Regions from separate parts of the Homo sapiens genome. Here all the other regions are linked to region 6. Evidence: promoter capture Hi-C in 16 types of primary human blood cells and fetal thymus (Javierre and others, 2016). All regions are on one chromosome and are shown on one strand. The core of a region is centred on a gene start or on the middle of the fragment in contact, and the rest is flanking DNA. Distances in the headings are between cores, read along the strand shown.

Region 1 (2,796 bases), core at 52-2,551, 390 kb before region 6:
GGCAGGGATTGAAAACTCATGGGCCAAGCCCAAGTGGGCCAGGCAAGTAACAAAAGTGCAGCTGGCTAGGAGTGAGCAGTGGGGAACAGCCAGGGATACTGACGCATGGACACCCATCTTCAGGGGGACGGTTCCTACCTGACTACAGCCCAGCACTGCTGCTGAGGTTCACGAGCCCAGTGTTGTTGGGCTTTTGTTGTGTGAAATCCCCCAACTTTTAAATCTGAGCAATGAGCTTAAAAAAAAAATTCTGCATAGACCAAACAAAACACATAACTCAAAGTCATATCAAGCCTGAGCCATCTTTGGCTCTACAGGATAAGTTTTTTTCCTTAAGAAGTGGATAGTCTAAAAAAGTCCCCAACAAAACTAATCTATGATGACAGAGGTAAGAATGGGGGTTGCCTTTGGTGGCAGGGAGCTGTGGATGGGCTCCCTTTTGGGAGGCTGGAAATCTCCAGTCTTTTGGTCTGTGTGGTGGTAACAGGGATGAGCACACATTTGAGAATTCATCAAGCTGTAAAAGTAAGAGTTGCAGACTTTACTATATCTAGTAACATAAAAAGCAAAAAAGGTCCCCCAGAGTTGGACGAAACCCTCTCCAGAGTGTGCTTTAAGCTGTGCTGCTCCTTCAGCCTCAAATTCCCTTTGGCTCTCCCTCTCTTTACCCTGCTGCCACTCACTTGCCCTATCAGCCATGGCCCAGGCAGTACTTCCTCCAGGAAGCCCTCCTACTCCACCCCAGCCCACGGTTGCGCTTGGCCCATCTGGGTGCTCCTAGATCCAGCCCAGTGAGTGCCACTTCATCCCCACCTTCATCACTTCCAAGGTCTGCCACCCTTGGAGTTTCTGAGGTCCTGGGGATGAGGACTGTGCACTGCTCACTGTGGTGCAGGCATTGCACACAGTGGGCATTCAGCAGAGGTCTGACGTGACAGCTCAATCCCCTCCAGCAATCAGCAAAGGGGAGGATGCCTCCCTCCCAACCCCATCTGTATTTCCCAAGAAGTGACTGAGCACAGAATCTGGAAACATGAGATCTGGAGAGAAAAAAAAGCCAGGGGACTAGCTGAGTCCTGGGTAAGAAGTCCTGGGGGAGTAGGGTTGGGGACATGTACATCTAAAGATTTAAAATGCGATTCTCTTGCAACCAGCTATGGTGACTTCCTACTGAGGAGAGGAAATAAGGATGCGTACAATTCTTAAATCACTTCCCTGGCCAAAGAAACTCTAGCCCAGTGTGGCTCACGCTTCCGCAGGCATCAGAATCACCAGAGGCTTTGTTAAAAACAGATTCCTGGGCCCACTAAGGAGACTGATTGGCTCTGGAACAGGGCCTGAGAATTTGCATTCCTAAGTAGATGCTGATGCTGCTGGTCCAGGGACCTCCACTGTGAGTGACACTGGCTCAGGCAAGACCACTATTAGGAAGAACAAAATATCACAATGCATCAGTGTTCTTTCAGTGACTCGTTTAACAAATTTTTATTACATTTGTACTGTGTGCAAAGCCATGTAAGTGATGCAGACATAATTAGAACTAGTAGTTGCATCCTTACCCTTGGTCACCAGAAAATGGATTGCTACCTCTCAGTGCCTGTCACAAGATTTGCTGTTAAAGCAGAAAATGACACCCACTTTCAGCCACTTCCCAATGCTCAAATGATCTCAGGTTCAAACTCATGACTCTGAGAACAAAGTGTGTGAAGTCCACTCCCATCAGCGAACTCATCTGTTTCTCCAAACATTTCTGATGAAATGAATCATTTCTCTTGGGCCTCTCTTCAATACATCACCTCCTTTGTTTAACCAGAAGAGGAGTTGGTTGTAGATTTCGTACTCTGGGCTGGGCAAGGGGCGGACACATTTCCCCTGGAGTCCAAGACAGCAAAGGGTCTCCAGAAGAGTCTGAGGGTGGAGGCAGCTTTCCAGCAGACAGACAAACACACTGCTCTGAAATAGCACCCGTTCCCATCCCAGGCAGGAGCCACCTTCCGACATATTCAGTTACAAGTGAGTGCCTGGGCATTAAATCTAAATGGCCCATGCTATGGAATGCCTGGGCAGCATGCAGTTAGATTATTTATGCCCTCTGCACCTGTGGAAGTGAGGTTTAATTATTTATTTCATGTTAAATTTCCAATCCTTGGCTTCCAGTCTGCAGATGAATAAACACCTCAGTTAAACTGCAGGGGTCTTTGGGTCATCCACTCAGCAGGGGCCAGAAAACTTAAGGATTTCAGCACCTCAGGATGTCATCTCACTCACTGCCTGACGATATCGTAACAAAAATCAATCCTGTGGCAGAGTTTTAAGAATCCTTTGAAGTGACAATATCTGAAAAATTCAGTTTTGCCCTGTCAATCAAAATGTAACTCAAGAGGTAAGGACACAACCTTTGAACCACAGACATGACACTATACTCTGCTAGTATATCTTTCCTGACTTGCTATAGGAGGCCACTAGCCTGACTTACTCCAATTCTTTCCTAAATTTGGGCAAAATTCAAAATTGTTGAATTTTGAATTCAACAATTCAAAATTGTTACAACTCTGGAGTTAAACGTCAGTCAGCTCCTTGTGGTGTCTGATTAAAATGTAATACTAAGGTATGTTCTAACTGAACTAGTTGCCTTCTTATGGTATAATCCAGTTTGCTGTTAGCAAGAGGGCTGTGGTTTGGAAATTGCTATCTTAACCCAAACCATCATCAGCTCTGCACCTCAAGCAGAACTGCTCAGAATTCAAACCTCAACCCTTCTCTACTTGCCTTTTCCTGTATTAGTAACTTGAGTCC
Region 2 (2,893 bases), core at 316-2,815, 350 kb before region 6:
ATCCCACCAAATACACAAGTCAGATCCCAGCCTAAGGGGTTCTGGCTACACTGGCAACTGCTGGAGCTGGGCCATGAGAAGAGCACCAAGTCACGGGTGCCCAGGGAGAGTCTTACTTCCAAGAACCCCACAGGAGCAGAGGCTACAATCTTCTAACACCTTCCACTTTCAGTTTCCTGAATCACAAAACTCAGACCCTGAAGCCCATATAGTTCATATCCTAGGTGGGCTCAGAGAGGGAACAAATGCCACCACATAACAATCACTAAAGTCAGTATTTTTACCTATAGTTCACTTAGTCATTCAACAAATATTTAGTGAGCATCTTCCAGGTGTCAGGAATTGCTCCTAGGCCCTGGGGGGTAAATCACTGAGTACAACTCTCCTGCCATTGGAGAGCTTATGTGGTGGGGGCAGGGTGAAAGGAGCCATAATAGACAGTAAGAACATAATAAATGAGTAAATTATATAATTTGTCAGAACAGCGGTCCCCAACCTTTTCGGCACCAGGGACCAGTTTTTTGGAAGACAATTTTTCCATGGACTATGGTGGCAAGGGATGGTTTAGGGATGATTCCAGCATATCACATTTATTGTGTACTTTATTATTTATTGTAATATATAAGGAAATAATTATACAACTCACCATAATATAGAATCAGTGGGAGCCCTGAGCTTATTTTCCTGCAACTAGATGGTCCTATCTCGGGGTGATGGGAGACAGTGACAGATCATCAGGCATTAGGTTCTCATAAGGAGCATGCAACCTAGATCCCTCCTATGTGCAGTTCACAATAGGATTTGCCCTCCTATGAGAATCTAATGCCACCACTGATCTGACAGGAGGCGGAGCTCAGGCAGTAATGCGAGTGATGGAGAGCAGCTGTAAATACAGATGAAGCTTCGCTTGCTCGCCCACCGCTCACCTCCTGCTGTGTGGCCTCGTTCCTAACAGGCCACAGCCTGGTACCCGTCCATGGCCTGGGGGTTGGGGATCCTTATGCTAGAAGACAACAAGTGGAAGAAATAAAGCAAAATAAGACAGCCTGGATGGGAAGAGATGGGTTCAAGATGCAATTTAAATAGGGTGGTTGGAGTAAGTCTCCCTGAGGAATCGTGAGCAATCACTTATTTTCCAGGCAGCTTCTTTTTTTTTTAAGCTGCCACAAGTCGACTGTCATTATTACTGCTATAGTTAAACTGTCATTATTGCAAATGTCAAGGCAATAATAAAGCAGTATCTTGGTGTTGCTGTTGTCTTGATTTGTGTTATTTTAGAAATTGCTTGAGGCCAAGCATGGTCACTCACACCTATAATCCCAGCACATTAGGAGGCTGAGGCAGAATGATCGCTTGAGCCCAGAAGTTTGAGACCAGACTGAGCAACATGGTGAAAACCGGACTCTACAAAAAAATACAAAAAAAATTAGCCAGGCATGGTGGTGCACACCTGTAGCCCCAGCTCCTTGGGAGGTTGAGGTGGGAGGATCAGTATGCACTCTAGTCTGGGTGAGAGTAAGGCCCTGTCAAAAAAAAAATTAAAAAAAAAAGAAGAGGAAGAAGAAGAAGAAGTGGAAGAGGAAGAGGAAGAAGAGGAAGGGGAAGGGGAACGGGAGGAAGAGGAGGAGGAAGAGGAAGAAGAGGAAGAGGAAGAAGAAGAGGAAGAGGAAAGGAAAGAAAAGAAAAGAAAAAAAAGAACAGAAATTGCTTGAAATAGGCAGATGCTAGCTTAGGGCTTAGAAACTTTTTTTTGAGATGCAGAAATGTATCATTGAAAGCATTGATGCAAGCAGGTTTTAAGGAGTGTTCCTAGTGGTCATTTCCACCATTTATCCTATTTGGATCAAATCTCTCAGAAATTCAGCCTGGAAATTGCCTGCACACAATCTGGCCTCTGGCTGGAGATGACAGCATGAGACAAAAAGCTGGCTTACATGAGGACACATGTATTCAGTACTGCTTTCCTACCAAGGCATGTTCACCTGTCATCTCATTGACTGTTTGAACAAGCCCCATACCCTGGTCCCCCTTTAACCCATGTGGACTCTAAGAAGCTAAGTGCTACCTCTGGTCACACAGTGGCTTGAGAGTGGAGCCCAGAGCAGAGCTGAAGTTTATGACTTTCCGCATTTATATTCTTCTTATATGGCCTCTCTGAACATAAATGTCTGTCTAGCCCTTTCAGACAGGCAGTCCAAATAAAACATAAGCTGGAGAAAACCAAGCTTTGGCGTCACATCAGGTCTCACCCATGAGAGCATCCTGACTAGTATTTCTCATCACCAAGTCAGTTAGATTGAAAGTTCAGTTGCAGTTAAGTTCCTCATTCCCAGATATTCAACACACTATGTGCCAGGGGCTCTGCTAGGTGATGAGGATAGCAAAGGTGAGTGGCAGTGGCCTTGACTGCAAGGACTTTGCATGGTCTTTATGGGAGACAAGCAAGAGGAGAGCACGGACAAATGCTACTATGGGAGCCACAGACAATTACAGGAAGAGGGTCACTCAGCCCTCCTTCCTGCTTAGGGTTGGGGAAAGCTCCCTGGAAGAGGTGAGGTCTAAGCAGAATTCAGAATGTTCTAGTTGAGGAGAGGGAAAGAGGGCAGCCAAGAGAGGACAGGAAGTTCTGGAGCTGGAGGGCTGAGTGGGGCAGATCTGGAAAGGCCTTCCATGCAGTCTGAACCTTAACCTAAAGGCCAGGAGAAGCCACAGCAGGGCTTCCAGCAAGCAGAGGACAAGGTCAAGACTGTGCTGCTGCAGAGAAAGAAGGAGTGGAGCCCAATCCAGCAGGAGGCCGGGGGTAGAGCTGGGAGGCCTGAACTAAGGGGACGGCAGTGGGCAGGGACAAGGAGGAGGAAATTCAAACGAAAAAGAGGAGGGCACGCAACTTGGA
Region 3 (3,193 bases), core at 159-2,658, 370 kb before region 6:
CCAGGAGGCCAAGTTTCCTGCCCAGGTCTCCATGGCTCCTCAGCAGAGTATCCTGGATTTGAACCGAGAACCTGCATATTAAACCACTGCAGAGCCTCTTTATCTCCAAGTGTGGGTTGCAGCAAAGCATGAACCCATCTGTGCTCCAGGCCTGAATGAACATAAACCAAGTCATTCCAAAAGTCTCTGTATTGCTGAGCTTGAACTTTCAGACTCCTGGACCAGTGCTCCCTCTACTGCAGCATATCATGAAAATGTCACATCTTCATTAGATATGAAGTGAATCTACCACCAAACATTCTCCTATTGCCCACTGCTTCTGTAATAAAATTTAGACCTAGAAAAATCTTTCAAGGTCATCAGGCTCAACACCTTTATATTCCAGATGTGGAAACCAAATCTCCAAGTCTCAGAGAAGCCAAGTTCATTGATCAAGGGAGTGGGTGGCAGGATGAAGAGTAGACCCCAGACTCCCCCGGCCTTGCACACTCAAGAGTGCTTTCCAAAACCAAACTGTACCTTCCCAGAAATGAACAATAAGGGAGAAATCACACAATAGGATGCTTTCCATGGGTGTCCTTAACTCAGGAGATCCTTTCTCTGATGATGCTGCAGTGGGCATGATGCTGCTTTAATCAAAGTGAACCAAATTATGAGAAGATCATGGTCTCAACATGCTATGAGCTCAAGTACGTCTTGAAACAGAATTCCATTTAGTGACACCCTCATAGCCACTTAATGGCAAAGTAATGTATTTAAATGCCTTGACACCTAAACATTTTTTTGCATAATTACATTTAATCTTTGCTCTTTGGTTAGGTTTTTATAGGGATTTGTTTTGTGTGGATAAACTTTTGAGTACTCCCATAGCTCTATTTCCCCACATTGTCTATAAGAAAGATAAGGTTGAAAGAAATCCTTTCTTTTCCTTAATATTATTTATCCCAGTTTATGTTTTATAGTTACCTATTTTTTTGGTTTATGTTAGTTTTCCTCACTAGACAGGAAGCTCCATCCATAAGAATTACCTATTCCATTCATCACTCAGCACCTAAGACAGCACCTAGCACATAATAGGTGTTCAGTAAATACTTCTTTCAGTTGAATGAATTAAAAATGAAGTTCCCCGAGGGTTAAGCTGTGAAGGAGCAACATCTAGAGGGTGCAAATCCCCTCTGACTCGAGTAAAACAATTCAGAAAGCCATTTTACCAGCCTGGTTGGTATCATTATTTTTAGAGAGATGTCTACAACATGAAGACAAGTAACATGAGATACATGCCCATCGAACACACCAACTATCTAAGATCTTCCGTTTTATCAGAAATTTGGAAAAATTAAACAATATGTAACACTCCAGTTTTCCCAAAATACCATTTAGCACCAAATAGTTCTGTGCTATGGTTTGAATATTTGTCCCCTTTAAGATGAGGCCTTTGGCTGGGCGCGGTGGCTCACGCCTGTAATCCCAGCACTTTGGGAGGCCAAGGCAGGCAGATCACGAGGTCAGGAGATAGGGACCATCCTGGCTAACACGGTGAAACCCCATCTCTACTAAAAATACAAAAAATTAGCTGGGCGTGGTGGTGGGCACCCGTAGTCCCAGCTACTCGGGAGGCTGCGGCAGGAGAATGGCGTGAACCCAGGAGGCAGAGCTTGCAGTGAGCAGAGATGGAGCCACTGTACTCCAGCCTTGGTGACAGAGCTAGACTGTGTCTCAAAAAAAAAAAGAAAAAAGAAAAAAAGATAGGGCCTTTAAGAGGTGACTGGGTCATAAGGGCTCTGGATTAATCCATTTATAGGTTAACATATTCATAGTTAATGGATTAATGGGTTATTATGAGAGTGGGACTGGTGGCTTTATAAGAGGAGAGAGGCCTGAGCTAGCACGCTTAGCCTCCTCCACCATGTGATACCCTATGCCACCTCGGGATTCTACAGAGTTCCCACCAGCAAGAAGGCCCTTACCAGATGCAGCCCCTTGACCTTGGACTTCTCAGCCCCCATAACTATAATAAATAAATTTTGGTTTCTTTAAAAATTATCCTGTTTTAGGAATTCTGTTAAAAGCAACAGAAAACAGCCTAAGACAGTCTACAAGTATCTATCTGATTGCAGCCTTACTTGAAAATTTTAAAATTCTAAAGTGACTCTGAGATTTTTTAAAAACATTAATATTTTCAAGCTACATATATTTTAAACCTCTTTATAGCCTCTTGCATCCACAAATTTAAAAACCAATATTGGATTTGAAGCAAAAAAAATAGCATTTGTTGCTTCCAAAGAAGCCAAGTTGGATTATATCAACGATACAGGGACAAGAACAAATAGGTTTGTCACAACCAAGGAGACTGCAAATCAGAAAAGTACAAGAAGTTGTTCTTCCTAATTGATAGACACTTTGTGAATTTTGAAATTTGTGAATGAAGTAATATAAAGAAAAACTCTACAATTGCAGAATGTCATACAGAAGAAAAACTACCATATGAACAGTTTGAAATGTGCAGGAACGCAAGTGTAAGAAGTACTAAGTGATGTTGCCCCATAAATTCTGAGAGCGATAGTTAGAATTAGCATTTCATCTTAGAGCAAAGTTTCTCTTCCACTGTTTTTTTCCTTTTATGCATGTTGTCTAAACGTCTCTGCCTTGGTTATAATTGTTTCGTGCATTGTTTAACTTTATAGGCAATAAAAGATACCACTTCCAAATATCTATTTTTCTCTCTCTGTGAGATGCAGGGCACTTATCTGTCAGCGCCGTCAGGAAGTGGGAACCAGCAGAGCGAGGACACTGGGAATTTCAGCATATCCTGATTTCAGCCCCTGGGATGTACAATTGGCACCAGATTTTATGCCAAATTTCAGTACAATGGAAATGTCCTGGTTTCACCCTCTGGGTTTTAGAAGACAAAAGGAAATGCAGTCAGTTCTTGGAGCAAAGCAGAACCACATCTGGAATTCATAGTCCATTCCTGGGATGCTCCAGAAGAAGAAATCCAGCGCCCACTATCCGTTAGCTAATTATCATTGCAGGTGACTACCAAGTAAACTCTACCTAAATCATGTCCACCCTCACTGCTTCTCATTCTCAGAGACTGCATTATAACCCTACATATATCTGTGAAATATAAGCCATAGCAGCTATCATTTCCTGCCTGCTTACTCTCTGCTAGGCATTCTGCTAAATGATTATA
Region 4 (3,157 bases), core at 206-2,705, 340 kb after region 6:
CATACCTGCTGTCAAGGTGCTGCCCTAATCCTCTCACATGGAGATGTGAAGTCAGAGAGATCTGCACGATGCATTGCATGGATAGAGCAGCCATTCCATGCCTTTATGTGTTAGGCAGTGTAAATACTTGATATAATTTAATCCTCATAGTACTCATACTTTATATTGTTATCCTTATTTTGTACAAGTGGAAACAGAGGCTCAGAGAGCGGTTCATTCACTGCTGGTCATGCAGCTAGCAAGTGGCAGAGCCAGGATTCAAATTTAAGTCTGCCAGATTTCAGATCCTGTTCCTTCTCTCCTCCACCACCCTGACATGAGTCAGTTTTCTGCCAGTCATCTTTAAAGAAACATTCTTCTTGTCCTCCACTTAAGGGACAAGGACTATGTTCTCATCCCCAGTGATAGATTTCTTGTGGTTCAGATGGGTAACCAGATTACTCCTGGTACTCAGGGTTTCCTATCAATAGTGGGGCATGTCAGCAAGCCTTCTTTTTCATCCTCTTGTCCTTAGGAGGGCAAATTCTCCCCTGAGGCATGCCTCCCAAATCCCTAGGCGTCTTTTACTGGAGTGCTAGGTGAGTCCTCAGTACCACCAAAGCCCCCTAAGACACTTCAGTCTCTTAGTGACTTGAGAGACCCCATTTCCCCCCAGGCTCTCTGTGTTTGGTGTCTCCACCAAAGAAAGGAAGGGAATAAAAAACCCTTCCAATTAAAAGAACTTTCCAGGTGCAGGGAACAAAATCCAGGCAGATTACCGCTCAGGGCAGGCTAGCCGCTAGCTTTTGCAAAAGTCTAAAAGGAGCCCACTTATGGCACAGAGCAGAGGGAAAGACACTTCAAACTGTAAAAAGCAAAATGTTGTTAAAGGGCTATGAAAACAATCTATTTAATTTATTGGAACATGTTTTTCTAGCAGCTTTGAGTTGGAGCTGTGATTGCCTCCTGCAGGGATTTGTGACCTCATCCTTCCTCCCCCACCCTCCCCAAATGTAACTATAGGGTTTTCCCGTCATAACCTGACATATGGTTTGCAGCAGGAAGTGCGAAATCCCAGGAATGAGTAGAGACTCAGGTTTCAGACTCTAGAGAGACTCAGGTGAGCTGCAAGGAATGGCCTTTGTTTCATATAAAAACAGAGTTGAAAAGAGCGTGGTTGGTGACCTCCTGGTTTGGAATGAGGTAATTAATTCTCCAGAAACTCCCACCAGTTTCCTGGGCAACAAAATCAATGTGTTGTTGCTAGAAAAACTGGGAATAATAAATTGGTTAAAATTACAGATTTCCTTTAAAAAAAAATACAGACTTCTTCCTTACCAACCCAAATATAAAACAAAACAAAACAATTCCAAAACACACACAGACACACACACTCACACACACACACACACACACACACAATTCCTCTTTACCCTTTCACTCACCCTCACTCTTTAAAAAAAAATTAAGTTTATTGCTATCTAAATATTATCATGCTTGAGAAGATAAGAAAAGAGAAAGGTGGATCAAATCCCACGCAGAATTGTACACAGAACAAGACAGTTTTTGAATATTTTTTAGGCCAAATATTCTCACAGAGTGGGGTGATAGTAGGGTCAGCATATAGTATCAGAATTTCTGGGGGTGTCATAGGGAGGGGACCAGTATGAGGTCTTTGTTTATCAAAAAGCATTGAAGATTTCTTTTTTAAAAGACTGGAAAACTGCTTAGGCTGCCTTAGCTTTTTATCCATTTAAAAACCAAGTAAAGTTTTTGTTTTGTTTTGTTTTTGATGACCAATTTAAGAACTAGGTGAATGGTGAGGTCTCAGAAATCCTACTTACAGCATTTTCTGAACTCCTAGTTGAAATCAAAATCTATTTTTTTCCCCTCCCCTTCTCCCTGGGCAGCTGGGAATCTCTCATTGCATGGCCTGAGAACACAGACTCCACAGTCAAACTGCCCGGGTTTTACCCTGACTCTCTCTCCCTGCCATTTCTCATCAAATTTAAGATACTGTTGCTGTAAGATGAAATATTATTTTAAGCATCACCAAAAAAGAAAAAAAGTGGTTAATTAAATTATGACACAATGCTAACGTGCCATCAGTTGTAGGACACATTCTAATTTCAGTGATGTTAAAATGTGACAAAAATTATTTTAGAATTGATGAACTATGGTGTTTGTTTAGGAAATTTAATCTTTCCCTAACTTGACATCTCTCTATTTCATCTTTTCATTTAAAAAATGGGAATAATAAGGGCTGGGCTCGGTGGCTGACACCTGTAATTCCAGCACTTGGGAGGCTGAGGCAGGCAGATCTCAAGGTCAGGAGATCGAGACCATCCCGGCTAACATAGTGAAATCCCATCTCTACTAAAAATACAAAAAAATTAGCCGGGCGTGGTGGCGGGTGCCTGTAGTCCCAGCTACTTGGGAGGCTGAGGCAGGAGAGTGGTGTGAACCTGGGAGGTGGAGCGTGCAGTGAGCCGAGATTGCGCCACTGCGCTCCAGCCTGGGCGAAAGAGCAAGACTCGGTCTCAAAAAAAAAAAAAAAAAAAAAGGGAATAATAATGTACCTACCTCAGGGTTGTTGTGAGGATTCAAGAGTCGGTTCATGTAAAATGCTCAGAACATTCCTTGGAACATAATAAGTGCTCAATTAGCTATTGTTATTATTCACTATATCCCACTCAAGTCGACAAATACTTGCTCAGTTGAAGTGTGGAGGTTTTCCTGGTTGTCATTCTACTAGGGGAAAAAAACAGCACAGTAACACCCACATATTGCAAACCATGATTTTAGAGAAATAAAAGCAGGCCAAATTGGGAGGATGGTAACAGATCGTTCCTCTCTGCCTTGGTCTCTGGGTGAGTTTTTCAAGTACACCCTGGTTTCCACAGAAAAGCGCCTGACTCCTCTGGTGATTGTTCTGTTATGGGAAGAGTTTTTGCATTCATGATGCTCTTGTGGATTATTTTTGCCAAGTTTTTTGTTGCTCTAAGCACTTCCTGGAGCCACCCCAGCCATAGGAGGATTCTGACCTCAGAGGGATGCCAGGCGGGGTTTGATGCAAACAATCCATGCTGTGCATGGGCCAGATGGTTCCACACAGCAAACACTATTATTTCATTCACAAAAAGTCAAAAACAAGCTGATTTCGCCATTTTAGGCCTAA
Region 5 (3,019 bases), core at 344-2,843, 370 kb after region 6:
TATCTGGAATAAGGGTCCCAAATTAAAATACTTTCAGGAACTAGGCAGGTGACATGATAAGAGAGGTCCACTGGATGGGTACTGGGAGGTACTGTTCAACTCTAGCCTGTTGCTTGCAAAATTTAAGCAGGAACCGCAGGTCCAATGCTAACAGATTTTTGGGGGGGCGGGGTGAAATCTCTTCATTTTTTTTTTTTTTTGAAATGGAGTCTCGCTCTGTCGCCCAGGCTGGAGTGCAGTGGCTTGATCTCTGCTCACTGCAATCTCCACTTCCCGGGTTCACGCCATTCTCCCACCTCAGCCTCCCGAGTAGCTGGGACTACAGGCGCCCGCCACCACGCCCGGTTAATTTTTTGTATTTTTAGTAGAGACGGGGTTTCACCGTGTTAGCCAGGATGGTCTCGATCTCCTGACCTCGTGATCCACCCCCCTCGGCCTCCCAAAGTGCTGGGGTTACAAGCTCGAGCCACCGCGCCTGGCCGAAATTTCTTCATTTTTATGAGTTGGCAACTATTTTCTAAAAAATCTTAAAATACCTTGTAGGGTAAGCTAAATACATCTATGGGCTAGAATCAGCCCATGGTACCCGGAATCACCTAATTCTCCACTCTGTTCTATGTATGAATGCAGCCCTTGCTCTTGGAATTATAATTGCCCCAGTGTTTGCTAAGCACAGCTGGCTGAGAGACTATAGGGTGAACTGATCAGAGGAATAGAGGGGAATCAGAAGACCTGGGTTTCAGTCTTATTCTCTAATAAGCAGCTGTGTGGCCTTGCTCACATGACTCTCGGTTTGGTTAGAGCATCTTTATGTATAAAATGAAGGCATTGATGAAGGAATCCTTAGGGCCCCTTCTAGTTCCAAATTTCCACGTCTATGCCTTTAAATGATTGAATTACTTTATTTTGTTTGTATCTAAAATACCTAGGCTAGATACTTAGAGACTTTGGCTTAAGTAGCACTGTGGTAACAATTCTGATTTACAAGAGTGAAGGGACCCTTGAAGTGTGATTTCTCCAACGGAGTCCTTAACAGGAGAGGCTAAAGAAGGGTTCACTCTAAAATTAAATGCCACTCCACTTCCCCAAGGGCAAAAGCAATTAGGAATTTCATTTGAAATCTGGGGACAGTTGATGGAAAAAAGAAAACAAATATATTAATAAAGAGTAATAAGAATAGGCATTGCTGGTGGGAAAGGTGCAGCCACTTTAAAAAAAACCAGTTCATCAGTTATTCAAAATGTTAGGCATAGAGTTACCCTATGACTCAGAAATTCCATCCTAGGTATTTATCCAAGAAAAATGAAATCTACCTACAAAAAAACTTATGCACAAATGTTCTCGCAGCATTATTCATAACAGCCAAGAAGTAGAAACAACCTAAAAGTCCATTTGAATGGATAAGTAAAATGTGGTACATTCATACAGTGGAATATTATTCTGCAAAAAAGGAATGAAATATTGATGAATGCTACATTACAGATGAATCTTGAGAACACTATGATAAGTGAAAGAGGCCAGTCACAGAGCATGATATGTTGTAGGATTTCATTTATCTGAAATGCTTGGAAGAGGCAACTCTATAGAGATAGAAAGCCCATTAGTGGTTGCCTGTGACTGGGGAGGATGGGAGGAAAGAAGAGTGATGCTAAAGGATATGAGATTTCTTTTTGGGGTGATAAAAATGTCCTAAAATTGGCTGGGCACACTGGCTCATGACTGTAATCCCAGCACTTTGGGAGGCCAAGGCAGGAAGATCACCTGAGGTCAGGAGTTTGAGACTAGCCTGGCCAACATGGTGAAAACCTGTCTCTACTAAAAATACAAAAATTAGCCGGGCATGGTGGCAGACGCTTGTAATCCCAGCTACTTGGGAGGCTGAGGCAGGAGAATCGCTTGAACCCGGGAGGCAGAGGTTGCAGTGAGCCGAGATTGCACCACTGCACTCCAGTCTGGGCAATAGAGTGAGACTCTGTCGCAAAACAAACAAACAAACAAAAAAAACAAAACCCTAAAAGTGCCTGTGGAGATGGTTGTAAAACCCTGAATATAATAAAAGACATGAATTGGACACTTTAAAGAGGCAAATTGAATGGTAATGAGAACTAACATCTCAATAAAGCTGTTTAAAAAAGAAAAAGTAAGGGTAAAAAGGTTATTAAATTGAAGGAGTAGATGAATAAAACATTAAACATAGGTTAATGAGAAACTAAGGAAAAGAATATATATGACTAGGTTATATTACTAAGATATCTTTTAGAACTACTCATTGTATTTTGAGAAGGGGCTGCTTTTAGCAGGCAAATTGTGATCAGGGAAAGGGATGATTAACAATAATAAATAGTGATTTTCATTCTTGGATATGGTCCTAGGCACTAATTGTTTTTCTGAGTATTTTTATGCACTGTTTTGCAGCTCAGGCAGCCTGTTACTCTGTTTTTCAGCTCCAATTGTTTGAGTTTGGCAGATTTGAGTTAGTAATGAGGATGCATTATGGCAAGGGACACTCATGACATCAGTACACACAGGGCTGCCAGAATTCTGGGGGCTCTGCCAAGCCCCAATGAGTTGCCCCATGCCTTGCAAAATCCAAATTGCAAAACAAGAAGAGTGAGGACTTGCTAGCTGGTGTTAAGTTTGGGGGATTCTATGTTTAGGTGCGAAAGGTGAAACCATTCTGACAAGAAGTAGTTACCTTAGCTTAATTGCAAGGGCAATTTCAGTGAAGTTGAAATCCAGGCCATGTTTGTCAGATTCTCCAGGAGGAGGAGTCACAAATTTGGACATCAATAGTGGTCTGGCAGGTAAAGTAGAACAGTGTAAGTGGTTAAATGGAGGGCTCTCTGTCCCATTTCATGGGGCCAGTCCCTGCGCTGTTCATGTTCCTTGTTACTGTATAGAAGGAAAGACTAGTATTGCCAAACCAACCTTCCGATTTTTCAAAAGAGACCGAAGACACAGATTTTTATTTTTATTTTTATTTTTTATTTTATTTTATTTTATTTTGAGACGGAGTTTC
Region 6 (2,971 bases), core at 387-2,886:
TAAGAGATTTTTACACAATAAGGTTGACTTTATATTCAAGGAAGTTCCTCCTCGCATCGGTTCTTAAAACACACAATTACAATAACAGAAGTTCTCTAAAACTACATTTTATTTTAAACGAATATTTATTTAAAAGCACATGCTTTCTGTTTTGTCTGCCTTCTTAATTCTAGCTACACACTGCTGCCCTCTGCTGCAATTTCAATCTTTCACACTCACAAACCCGACCTAGTTTCCATCTATACAGGTTATCTGACTCACTGCAAGGGTTATGTGTGTGTGTGTAGAGAACAAAAGGGAAGGCTCCTTGAAAAGAAAACTAGGAACTAAAGATGTTGGCACAGTTCAAAAGAGCCCATCTGAGAAGTGGGCCTTTTTTTTTTTTTTTGAGACGGAGTTTCACTCTTGCTGCCCAGGCTGGAGTGCAATGGCACGATCTCGGCTCACCGCAACCGCCGCCTCCAGGTTCAAGCGATTCTCCTGCCTCAGCCACCCGAGCAGCTGGGATTACAGGAATGCACCAACATGCTCGGCTTTTTGTTGTTGTTGTTGTTGTTGGTTTTTTTTTTTTGTATTTTTAGTAGAGACGGGGTTTCTCCACGTGGTCGAGCTGGTCTCGAACTCCTGACCTCAGGTGATCCGCGAGAAGTGGGCCTTTTTATGGATCCAGCAACAAACTCCCAACCTCCCAGGAAAGGTTGCTTCCTGTCATCTATATAAAACTTTGTGTCTCAGGCCTTTATTGCTTTTTTAATTGAAATAAATTATATATATATGGTTTAAAAAAAAAAGAAAAGGAAAAAGGGTAAACAGCAAAGAGGGTAATCAATAAAACATTTGGCTTCCACTCCAAACCTCTGAACAGTTTTGTGTATCCGTCCAGAAAGCGTATATATTATTACAAACATACACAAGGGGCATTTCTTTTTGAACACAAATGTGAGTATTCCTACCACTCTTTACCATTCTAGACTAACTTGGACGTTGTTCCCTATCAGGCGAGATTAACCCAACTAAATTAAAACCAAGTAGGTTTTAACAAAACAGATTTTAAAGAAATCAATCTTCTCTCCAATAGGTTATTTCTGTCACGATTTAATTAGCTTTCTGTTACTACTAAGGCTTGTATCATATAAAGTAGTGGTTCTCAGGCTGGGCGCGGTGGCTCACGCCTGTAATCCTAGCATTTTGGGATGCCGATGCAGGAGGATAGCTTGAGCCCAGGAGCTGGAGACCAGCCAGGGCAACGTAAAGAGAGCCCCCACCAACACCCCCCGCCACCCACCACCACCGCCCCGGAAAAGCAGTGGTTCTCAAACGTCAGCGGACATTGGTATCATCTGGTGAGCTTATTAAAACAAGAGTCTCTGGATTCAGGAGGTCTGGGGTGGGGCTTGAGAATTTGCATTTCCAATAAATTCCAAGCCGGAACTCCAGGAAGATAACCTGCATTCCGCGCCTGGCGAAGCCCAGCTACGCCATTTCCTTCCTAGGCCCCGCCTACTTCGTGTCCCTGACAGCCAGGGACTGGCTAGAGGGCGCGCGGAGTCACGTGAGTCGAGCGACCTCGCGCGAGAGTTTGTATTTCTCGCGAGACTTCACCGTCTCTGTCTTTTCCTCCTTCCAGTGCCCGGCGTTCCTCCCTTCCCCCTCGCCGCCGACCGAGTTCTTCCTTTTCAGACCGGGTCGCCTTGCTGTCGTCGCGGTGATTTTCCTGCTACTGCTACTGCTGCTGCTGCCACCGCCACTACCACTGGGCTCATTTGCCCCGACCCCTTCCCGCCGCCCCGCCCCCAGCCCCACACAAGGTAACAACCCCCCTGAGGGAGAGAGTAAGGCCTGGCCGGGCCCGGGTCCCTCCCGAGGTGAAGCGGAGGCCCAAGGCTGAGGAGCCCGCCTCGCCGGAGACGCCCAGGCGCTGGCCCTGGATCCCGGAGCCACGGCCGTCTCTCAGCCAGAGCTGAGCCTCGGCGGCCCGGCCGGCGCTGGCCTCCGTGCGGCGGCGGCAAACACGGCCCGCAGGGGACCGGGTCGGGTGGGGCTGGGCGCCGCGCGGCTCCCTGTGGAGCCTGCCTGTTGGAGCGCGGCGGGGCTCCGGCGGTGGTCTTGGAGCTGGCGTGTGGATTTCCACGTCCGAATGATCGAGTTGTGGCGGGCTTTGAGGTGCTGCGTGGCGGGGAGGAGAGCAGCCTGGGTCGCTGTAACTCTTAGGGGGCCTTTGCAGGCTCCCAGCCTTTGGTTGGACGGGAATTTTACGAAGGAGAAGGGTCCTCGGAAACGTGGTACATTTGCTTATAAACCATCAAAAAAGGTTAATTGGTATCTTATTTTCAGGAAAATGACTGAGCTGGATTTGGCGAAAGGCACATTCGTTAGAATGCCTAAATGGGAGAGTACCTGTGCTGTTCTTTTTGCTGAAGATAATGCACCGATAAATATTTAAGCGACTGGGCGAAAGATTTTTGTTTTGGAGAGGCACTTTTAAATACACTCTTAATTGAATAGTTCAAGTAAAGATCGTAGTTTGTGTAGTTAATTTAAAAACGCACTTGTTTGGCTTTGGAAGCATACTGTAGTGCTTAAAAATAAGTATTTGGATTGTTTTTGAAAGTTTCGACTTTTCCAACAGAGTAGTGCTTTTTAAAAAGATAACACTGATTATTGAGCCGAATTCAGCACCTACCCTGTGGATAGGAGTTAAAAGAAAATTAGAAATTTCTTTGTATCTGTATGCTTTTTTAAAGTATGGAATGTATCTCAAGTTTATAATCCTCAGAATCTGTTGCCTTTAAGTTTGTGGTTTAGCTGAAGTCTAAACTGAGAGTAAAGGTAATGGTGGTAAATTAAGCTGCAGTGTTAGAAGGAGTTAGAGGCAAAAACTGGTAATTCAGGCAGACAGGGGAGTTAGTTTTTTATGCCTTGATTTTTGGTTTAGTTTTCATGGTCTAACCCTTTTTATTTTCCCTAGATG
Region 7 (2,813 bases), core at 175-2,674, 390 kb after region 6:
GAGATAGGTTATTATGGAAAATGTTCTCTATTTCTCTAATATAGTCCTTCATTATCTTAGAAATTAGCTTTCAATTTTGATCATAAGATTGCAAAATGAGAAAAGCTTGTAATATATTATTGTCCTTTATAAATTGAGTGTGCATTTAGGAAAGTCTTTTTGGGAAATATTTCTTGGCTGTCCCTTCTCCCCAGAACTGGTTAATTGTCTGATGGGTTGCCAGAAACCTGAATTCTGAAAAGTGGTGTATTACTGTATTTCTATCCCAGTAAGCCAGTACTGCTCTAACGACTACTAAGGAGAACCATGTGTTTTTTTTTTTTTTAGCTGACTGAAAAATTGATCTCTTGAAGTACATAAGAAACCATGCCCGTCTAATCTCTGTTTGGAAGATCAGTGCTATAATTGCATGCAATTTTAGATCCTTTTTCTTTAAAAAATATAGATGTATCCAACACATTTTGGACCATATTAGGAGGTAGCAGAGGAAGGAGGAAAAAGAGAAAGTAAAGAAAGGAAAAAAGTGATGGAATCATTAAACTTAGAGTTGGAAGATAACTTCTTTTTCTTTTTGTAATGTATGAGGAAATAGAGGTTAGGTAGCTTCAGTTGCCTGAGGTTGTAGATCCCAGCTGGAAACTGGAGCTCACTTGTTTTGCTTCTGTTGGTCTTAGAACACTTTAAGGCTCTATTATGTCCCCCAGCTAATATGGTGTAATAGAGCATGGACTTGGGAATTGCATAGACCTTGAGTCCCGGTTCCTGATGAACCAGCTGACTTTGGGCAAGTACTTAACTCCTTTTAACTCCTGTTCCTTTATGTGTAAAATGAGAATAGTGAAACCTCCCTTGGAGGATTGTTGTGAGAATTAGCCACTAATGTATGTAAAGCCCTTAGCGTTCCCTCAGCTGTGCAACAGAGAAACAAACCACTACCTCTAAAGCTATTGATGCTGGAAGAGCATCTGTGCCCGTGTTAAGATGCTGAAATTGGAGTAAACTGGCCCCTTCCATTCTTATAACGAGACTTGGGAATTCCAGCTGGTGCTTCAGATCCAGATTCAAATATTTCTTGAGCTCCTGCAGTGTAATAGATGCTGTGCATGGTGCTTTCACACACATTATCATGTTTAATTTGCCTGGCCACCAGTGAGGTAAGTATGGTGTGCTTTTCATGTACAATCAGTGAAAAATCTTGTTTGTGATAAAGGCTGAAGGTGTGGGAACTTATTTCTAAAAGCAGACCTGTATATGCAAGACTTTTAAGTGAGTCATTCTCTGTAAGGCATAGTTTGAAAATACCTGGCAGTGTATGGGCTAATGTTTCATCGTGGACTAGGCCTGTTGCTCTTGGCTTCCTACTTTGCTGCATACTTTGCTTAGCTCTTGGCTGTTTCTAACATTTCTGAAAAGTCATAGGATGTGGAATGAGCAGATGTCATAATACAGCACCTTGCAAGAGCCTATCTGTCACTGAAGATTCATTACTGTTCATTGAGACTGAAAAGATCATAGATCCAATGTTGTGAATTTGATTTAGCCATCTTTGAGTGAGCATATGTATATGTTAATTGTAGATACATGGATACAGAGATGACATCATCCCTGCCTTCCGGAGAAGTGGTATACACACCTGTTTACACAATTTATCACATTGCATTTATGGTTAGTTGTGTGTCTAACTCTAATAACATTAAACATTTACATGACATTTGTTATGTGCCAGGTACTGTTTCTAAGTGCCATATGTATAGTAACTCATTTACTCCTTATACAAATTATGAGGGTCATTAGCTACAACTTTCACTTCCTCCATCTTGGCTGCCTTTTCAACCAGTGCCACCTCAATGGCTAGGACTTATATAATTGCACCAACTTTGTTCTCTCCTTAGCTCCAGCTGCTCACTCATTCAATCACTTTCCATCACCTGTTTTCCTTGTGGGTACAGCTGCCTCAACCACCAGGGCCCACTGTATTCACTTCAGTGGTAGCTGCCTCACTGCCTCAGCCATTGCCTGTTGCTATCTTCTTCACCTTCACTGTTGCTGCCACTGCCCCTTACCACATCCTAACTATTGGTTATGGTATTGGGACTTCTTTCATCATGTCTAATATTGATGATAAAGAAGTAGCTGCATTGCACCCAGAACATGAATGTGATCGGCCTGAAGGATGAGGAAGTAGGAAGAGGGAAAGTGTTGAGTGTTGATGGGGGTAGGTAGCATTGTGGAGGGGAGTGTCAGTGAGACTGATAAAGCTGATGATTCTGTGGGGGTCTGATATGCCAGTCACCAGGGGAAACGTGATGATGTGATGGTGGTAGTGATGAAGATCAGAATGTGGGAATGAGGAGGCAGGTTGTGATGACCAGGAAGCAGAGGATGTTTTTGAACAGATCCAGTTTGTTTTTGTTGGTTTTTAGTTTGCAGTTGAAGATTTTGTGCTCATGATTGGTTGTGTTAACGTTATTGATGAAGTTAGTGACTGATAATATTGATACTACAATCAGCACTAAACACCCAGTCAGTGCCACCAAAATCCTTACGTCAGAATGTACCTGAATGGAAGGCAGAGTCTATAAAGAAATAAATGATCTTGAAAGAAAGTATATTAGACTCTTATATTTTTGCATTTTAAAACTCCTGAAGCCAAGGCTGTACTCCAGACCAGTTAAGTCAGATGTTTCCCGGATAGTCCTAATGTGCAGCCAGTGTTGAAGTCCTGCTCCTAAAGAAAGCTTCATTTTTGCTTGACTGTTTTTAAGAATGATAACTTGCTCAGAAATATGGTTTGAAAACACAATAAATCTATT

Evidence for each region. The method cuts DNA at HindIII sites, captures the fragments that hold promoters and counts their contacts. A CHiCAGO score of 5 or more calls a contact.
Region 1: a contact is called between a fragment that was not itself captured here and the fragment with the promoter of SMNDC1 in region 6, in 4 of 17 cell types (M2 macrophages, M0 macrophages, M1 macrophages and 1 more). The highest score is 14.6, in M2 macrophages.
Region 2: a fragment that was not itself captured here is called in contact with the fragment with the promoter of SMNDC1 in region 6 in 10 of 17 cell types (M2 macrophages, megakaryocytes, M0 macrophages and 7 more); the score reaches 12.9 in M2 macrophages.
Region 3: a fragment that was not itself captured here is called in contact with the fragment with the promoter of SMNDC1 in region 6 in 15 of 17 cell types (megakaryocytes, fetal thymus, M2 macrophages and 12 more); the score reaches 23.1 in megakaryocytes.
Region 4: a fragment that was not itself captured here is called in contact with the fragment with the promoter of SMNDC1 in region 6 in 1 of 17 cell types (neutrophils); the score reaches 6.7 in neutrophils.
Region 5: a contact is called between a fragment that was not itself captured here and the fragment with the promoter of SMNDC1 in region 6, in 3 of 17 cell types (neutrophils, monocytes and naive CD4 T cells). The highest score is 10.8, in neutrophils.
Region 7: a contact is called between a fragment that was not itself captured here and the fragment with the promoter of SMNDC1 in region 6, in 10 of 17 cell types (neutrophils, monocytes, naive CD8 T cells and 7 more). The highest score is 16.6, in neutrophils.

What each region holds. Positions count from the first base shown.
Region 1 is chr10:110,694,583-110,697,378 of GRCh38, reverse strand. The region is part of intron 1 of RBM20 (RNA binding motif protein 20); the gene reads right to left. Among named protein-coding and RNA genes, the nearest start is that of RBM20, 52 kb to the right of the region's middle. The HindIII fragment of the contact is 3,322 bases long and covers 1-2,796 here.
Region 2 is chr10:110,658,514-110,661,406 of GRCh38, reverse strand. All of the region lies in intron 1 of RBM20 (RNA binding motif protein 20), which reads right to left. Among named protein-coding and RNA genes, the nearest start is that of RBM20, 16 kb to the right of the region's middle. The HindIII fragment of the contact is 1,324 bases long and covers 904-2,227 here.
Region 3 is chr10:110,675,862-110,679,054 of GRCh38, reverse strand. The region is part of intron 1 of RBM20 (RNA binding motif protein 20); the gene reads right to left. Among named protein-coding and RNA genes, the nearest start is that of RBM20, 33 kb to the right of the region's middle. The HindIII fragment of the contact is 7,368 bases long and covers 1-3,193 here.
Region 4 is chr10:109,959,612-109,962,768 of GRCh38, reverse strand. All of the region lies in intron 2 of ADD3-AS1 (ADD3 antisense RNA 1), which reads left to right. Among named protein-coding and RNA genes, the nearest start is that of XPNPEP1, 38 kb to the right of the region's middle. The HindIII fragment of the contact is 8,042 bases long and covers 1-3,157 here.
Region 5 is chr10:109,930,865-109,933,883 of GRCh38, reverse strand. No RefSeq gene overlaps it. Among named protein-coding and RNA genes, the nearest start is that of XPNPEP1, 8.9 kb to the right of the region's middle. The HindIII fragment of the contact is 4,489 bases long and covers 1-3,019 here.
Region 6 is chr10:110,303,585-110,306,555 of GRCh38, reverse strand. SMNDC1 (survival motor neuron domain containing 1) reads left to right here and starts at 1,636. Exons shown (of 6, transcript NM_005871.4): 1 at 1,636-1,808; 2 at 2,969-2,971. The coding sequence starts at 2,969. RefSeq lists a silencer at 1,805-2,124. The HindIII fragment of the contact is 6,895 bases long and covers 1-2,971 here.
Region 7 is chr10:109,911,598-109,914,410 of GRCh38, reverse strand. All of the region lies in intron 2 of XPNPEP1 (X-prolyl aminopeptidase 1), which reads left to right. Among named protein-coding and RNA genes, the nearest start is that of XPNPEP1, 11 kb to the left of the region's middle. RefSeq lists enhancers at 520-1,175, 1,522-1,571. The HindIII fragment of the contact is 2,633 bases long and covers 108-2,740 here.